Linked DNA regions of Homo sapiens: region 1 is linked to region 2. Evidence: promoter capture Hi-C in 16 types of primary human blood cells and fetal thymus (Javierre and others, 2016). All regions are on one chromosome and are shown on one strand. The core of a region is centred on a gene start or on the middle of the fragment in contact, and the rest is flanking DNA. Distances in the headings are between cores, read along the strand shown. Region 1 has its middle 5.1 kb from the start of GOLGA7. Region 2 holds the start of SMIM19 (small integral membrane protein 19).

Evidence for each region. The method cuts DNA at HindIII sites, captures the fragments that hold promoters and counts their contacts. A CHiCAGO score of 5 or more calls a contact.
Region 1: a contact is called between a fragment that was not itself captured here and the fragment with the promoter of SMIM19 in region 2, in 1 of 17 cell types (naive B cells). The highest score is 5.1, in naive B cells.

What each region holds. Positions count from the first base shown.
Region 1 is chr8:41,484,137-41,486,854 of GRCh38, reverse strand. No RefSeq gene overlaps it. Among named protein-coding and RNA genes, the nearest start is that of GOLGA7, 5.1 kb to the left of the region's middle. The HindIII fragment of the contact is 161 bases long and covers 1,347-1,507 here.
Region 2 is chr8:42,540,302-42,543,001 of GRCh38, reverse strand. It overlaps SMIM19 (small integral membrane protein 19), which reads right to left and starts at 1,417. Exons shown (of 4, transcript NM_001135674.2): 1 at 629-1,417. It also overlaps a transcript of SLC20A2 not described here. RefSeq lists silencers at 997-1,416, 1,557-1,836. The HindIII fragment of the contact is 8,293 bases long and covers 367-2,700 here.

The sequences.
Region 1 (2,718 bases), core at 178-2,677, 1.1 Mb after region 2:
TTTTTTTTTTAAATTATTACATCATTAGTGACATAGTCAAATGATTTGCTAACATTAACATCATGATAGCAGCAGCTACTATTCATTGGGCTATTAGTGTTAAGGAACTAGGTTGAGCGGTTTATATGCATTACCTCATATAATCTCTACTATATCTATTAATCTAGTAACCCTGGCCAAACAATGATAATACTATATAATACAGATATGATCTATAATCTATGAGCTCACTAGCCCTACACTATTATTTTATTCCTTTCTATGTTTTCAACAATCCTCTGATATTTTAAGGAGCTGAAGTCAAGCTATTAGTCTACAGTATTGACAATTCATTCTTCCTTTTTGAATTTTGAGTCCCTTGTCTATGTTTAGCTTCTTTGAAGCCTACATATTATCTATTTTATTCCTCTGTCCATAATAGATTCTCATGAAATGCTTTGAAAATGAATTCATTCAACAAATATTTGTCGACACTCATAAGGGCTGGTGATGAAAGGATAAAAAAAGTGTGGATTATTTATGTCCTGTGGAAATTCACATTCTTATGGGTGGCCAGGAGGGTGGGAGGAGGGAGATTATAACAGGTTAAAAAACTTTGGGGAAGGGGAGGGGTTTTAACAGAAGGAGAGATAATTGGGCATTCCAGCCTCTCTGTCCAGGGAATGATAAGTATTCATACCTGAAATAAGTAGGATCTGAAGTCTGCTTGGGTGAGGGTCAGGTGGGAGTAGGGATGAGAGATCTTTAATAGAGAAGAGAGATGGTGATAAAAATCTTATATCCTTTTACACACCCCTCTATCGTTTCTTCTCCAAGGTGAATGAACCAGCTTCCTTTATCTTCGATGGTAGGATCTCTATTCCAAAGTTTCTGTCTTTTTGTATGACTCTCAGAACCTTCTGGTGTTTCAAACTAGATACTCTGATAAGAGCGTTAACCTGTGCTGAATATTATCAGTGAAATCCTTTTGTCCCTCCATTTTCAACTCTGTTTTTTTTTCTCTATTGGAACAAAGCTAGCTTTTCAATGCGGGGTCCCATTCTGTATCACCAACTCATGTTCAACTTTTGACCCATCCTGGATCATTTTCGGCCCTGCTTACAAACAGCTTCCCACGCTGCAGATGGCGTCTTCTCTTCAGCTACGATCTCTCCTGGGCTTTGTTCTATTTGTGTCCAACCACTTCCTCCCAGGTCCTTCATAAAGATCTCAATTGGATTGAAAGACGTCCTTATACTAAAGAAATTTTAAACTGTCCTCCTTGGCCATGCTCACGTTGCTCACCGAAGCCATCCCCGTTTCGTCTAACATCGTTTTTTTTGTAGTAGTTGTTTTCTTCTAAAGCTTTGAGGCATGACTGGGGTGGGGGCAGATCAAATCCATTTTCCTCGTTTTCAGTTCTAGTGTCTACCATGCACTGGTACAATGGGCAGAACTCCAAGGATCATTGTCTCTTTGTTTTCATGCATTTGCTGGTAATTTCAAGTCAGCTTCCGTTTTATAAGCTTGTATGTCTTTATTGCATTTTGAGAGAACATTATTGGCATACCTGAATTGACAGCATCTGTTCCTTCCATTTAAATTTCACCATCTAAAACAACGTGTGTCCCAGTTTCAGGAAACAGGCTGAACAGATGCCAGACAGTTGTACTGAATGCTCTCTCCATGAAAGAGCTGCTCTTGCTTACATTTTTGTTTATTTCATTGTGAGGGAGAAGAGCAGATTGAATGATGTCATTAATAAGGGTCCTTTGCCTTTATTGTTTAGGATCCTATTGAAGACCTCTCATATCTGAAGTGGCTGGTGGATAAGAGGGTTTGGAGATTTCAGACTCTTTTCACCAGCACAGTGTAGAATTGCAGAGCTGGAAGCAAGGGTGGTGTCACGGGTGTGTGACTTGTATAGTTGCATAGGGATCTGCACTGAGAAGAGCTCTCTTCTTGGCTTAATGTCCTGCTGTCATCATCTTGAAATTCGTAATACTTTCTGAACATGGGAGTCTGCACTTTAATTTTGCACTGGGCCTCAAAAATCATATAGCTAGTTGTGGATGGAAGAAATATGAGGGCATCTAGTGGGAACACACCATCATTATCTGGGATAGATGATTAACTGTCCATATCTTCTGTGGAACCTGATTTGACGGCAGTTTTGACAAAAGTAAAAAGAAAAACAGGCTGGGTGCGGTGGCTCACGCCTGTAATCCCAGCACTTTGGGGGGCCGAGGCAAGCAGATCACGAAGTCAGGAGTCGGAGACCAGCCTGGCCAACATGGTGAAACCTCGTCTCTACTAAAAATACAAAAATTAGCCCGAGGTAGTGGCATGCCCCTGTAATCCCAGCTACTCGGGAGGCTGAGGCAGGAGAATCACTTGAAACCAGAAGGTGGAAGTTGCAGTGAGCTGAGATCGCGCCACTACACTCCAGCCTGGGCAACAAGAGTGGAACTCGGTCTCAAAAAAAAAAAAAAAAAAAAAAGAAAAGAAAAGAAAAAAAAGACCTCCCTCCTTAGAATTGTACCTCCCTTGAGTTGGAGGGGCCTGGTAAACATCTGGCCCAGGTGTCCTTCTTAGAATCTGGCACTATTTCAACTATCTTTATGACCTCTAGGGATGAAAACTTCACAATTCCCCCTGTGGGCTCTTCCATGTGCACTGCATGTTATGTCTAATTTTCCCATAAAGGACAAATACTCACTAACACAAAGGATTAATTTC
Region 2 (2,700 bases), core at 168-2,667:
TACTTTTTTTTTTTTTTTTACAAAAACAGGGTCTCACTCTGTCACCCAGGCTGGAGGGCAGTGGTGCGATCTCGGCTCACTGCAGCCTCGACGTCCCAGAATCGAGGGATTCTCCTGCCTCAGCCTCCCAAGTAGTTGGGAATACAGGCAAGTGCCACCATGCCTGGGTAATTCTTATTTTTTTTTTTTTAAAGACGGGGGTGGGGTGGGGGTCGTCTCACTATACTGCCCAGGCTGGTCTCAAAACTCCTGAGCTCAGGCAATCCGCCCGCCTCAGCCTCCCAAAGTGCTGGGATTACAGGCGTGAGCCACCGTGCCCAGCCGAGAACTACTTTTTCTAGGGACTAGGTCACTGTATCATAAGCTTTAAAATCTGTGTCGTGATTTTGGGTTCCTGATGTCACGTCTAGGTGATTCTAAAATTGACCACCGCTTGTCATCGTGCCTTGAATGTTATCATTTTTGTCTCTCACTTAGAACTTTGTTACTTTGATACAAATTCACATTGGAACCACTTAGTTCCTAGAGTCCCTTACAACAAAATCCTCTGCATCAAAAAATGGGATTTCTTTCTCTCATCCCTCTGAAACACTAAAGGCTTGGTATTCTGAAGCCAAAGGGTACATACAAGCTCACAGGCCTTCACCCAACATCCAGGAAAGCAATTCACAGGTGCTGGGCAGTCCACAGAGTCACTGAATTATCCCAACAACCCTGCTGGGCGGCACTAAAGCTCCATTTTACAGGAGAAGAAACTGGGGTGGCGGCGGTGGTTATATAACTTGTCCAAAGCCACACAGGCCTGGGCGTGGAGGCGCGGGGCTGTTATACACACGACTCCCAAACCTGAACTCTTCCAGTCTTGGCCCCGATCCTGCGAGACCTGCTCCTTCCGGAAGAAAGTCAAGTGGAGCAGGGAGAAAATGTAATCCTCTCCCAGGAAGCAGCCCGGGTCCCAGGGCGGCGAGGCTCTAGGGACGTTTCCGCCGCCCGCAGGCTGCGCGTGATTCAGCCTCAACCCTCCCGCCGAGCCCCCGCCGCCCCGGCAGATGGGCCGCCGCAACTGGCCCGTGTGCGCTTCCGGAAGCGGGCGACTCGCAGCTCCACGCGACGCCGAGGGGCTCCGCGCCGGGACCGGGCGGGTGCTCGGAGTTTCGGGGACCGCACGGGACCGAGGGCAGGCGGGCGGCCACCCCCCTTACCCCCGCGTCCGGGGCGGGGCGGGCGGCGCGGGGCGGGGCCGGGTGACGCGGCCCCGCCGGGGACCGGGAGAAGCGGGGACGCGGGGCCACTCACGCTGCCGGCTCCGGAGGCGGCACGCGGCCAGCGCTGCTCCGCTCCGGGGCTCTTTACCCCGGAGTCGGGGCCGGGCGCGCGGGAAACGGTTACCGAGCGGACCTGGACGCCCTCTGCCTTCGTCATTTCCTGCCGGCCGGTCGGTTTCCGGATGAAACGAGGAGCCAGGTCTTTTTTTTTTTTTTTTCCTTTCCCCTTTTCAGTTTTTTGAGCCGGAGAGACGCAGCGGCGGCCCCAGTGCCGCCCCCGGGCGCGTGAGTGGAGCCGGGCTCCTTTCCCCTACCGCGCCGCGACCCCCGCCCGGGCTGCGCGCGCCGCCTCCCGCGAGCCCCCGGCCCGACTCCCGGGCTCCCGCGGGTGGGGGCCAGGGCTGGTCGGCGCCGGCGGGGCTCGCGGCGGCGGCGGGTTGCGTCCCCCGCGCCTGCTGGCCCACGTGGACCTGGCCGTCGCTTGCCGTGCGGCGCCTTTGCGAAAACTCGACGGAAGTGGCAGGGACCGGGCATTACCTGCGAGTGCCGGGCGCCTCCTGCTCCGCTGTGCGCGCTTGGGGTGGGACTCGGCGGGGGAGGGGTCGTGTACATTGTCCCACCAGGCGCAATGTAGCCGGGCGGCGCAGAGGATTTCTTTTTTGGTCTTGAGAGCATAGAGTCCCTTTTCATATTCACGTGTACTCTTAAGAAAGCGTCTGTTCTCCAAACTGGCTTTCCATTCTCCCCGTCCTAAATGGTGCGTGGCTGACACCGTAGTGTTTTCAAAACTGGATATGGCCAGGATGCTATAGCATTGTCAGTGTAAGTCCCTTTTGGGTATTTTTATTTAATTGTGTAGTGACTTGACAGAAGTGTTTCCCAGCTTGACCTAAGTAATGAATTTGCATAGGATTTCAGCATCAGTATGGAAGTGATCAGATGTCAGTGGCTGGTGCCACCTTGCAGATAAATGGCCACTGGTCCACGTAGTTCGTCTTTACTATACATTTTGATTAAGTTCTCTAGGACCAGCTGACTGGTAATTATAAGTCACATGAAACCCTGCAGAGATGAGAGCTTACATTGAACACTTCTTAACAAGTTTTCTATTCTTTGTTTCATCTGTTACAATTAAACTCACCTTCGTCTAGGGTAAGACCATTACTTTACGCAATAACATACTAGCTTAATTTACGGTATTTATATGTATTTATATATATTGTATATACATAATCATACATATAATTCTATAACATTTAGTTTGACTCTAAAGTTGGAAAATCAGGAAAATAACAGGTGATGTTGAGTACTGATTGTTTGCCGGGCCTGTGCCAAATGGTGTGCATGCTTTATGTAACTTAATCTAAAAAAATTTGAATACGTGAGTTTGATTTCAGTGTGTCCAAATGTGAAACGTGTACATTATTGTTATTGT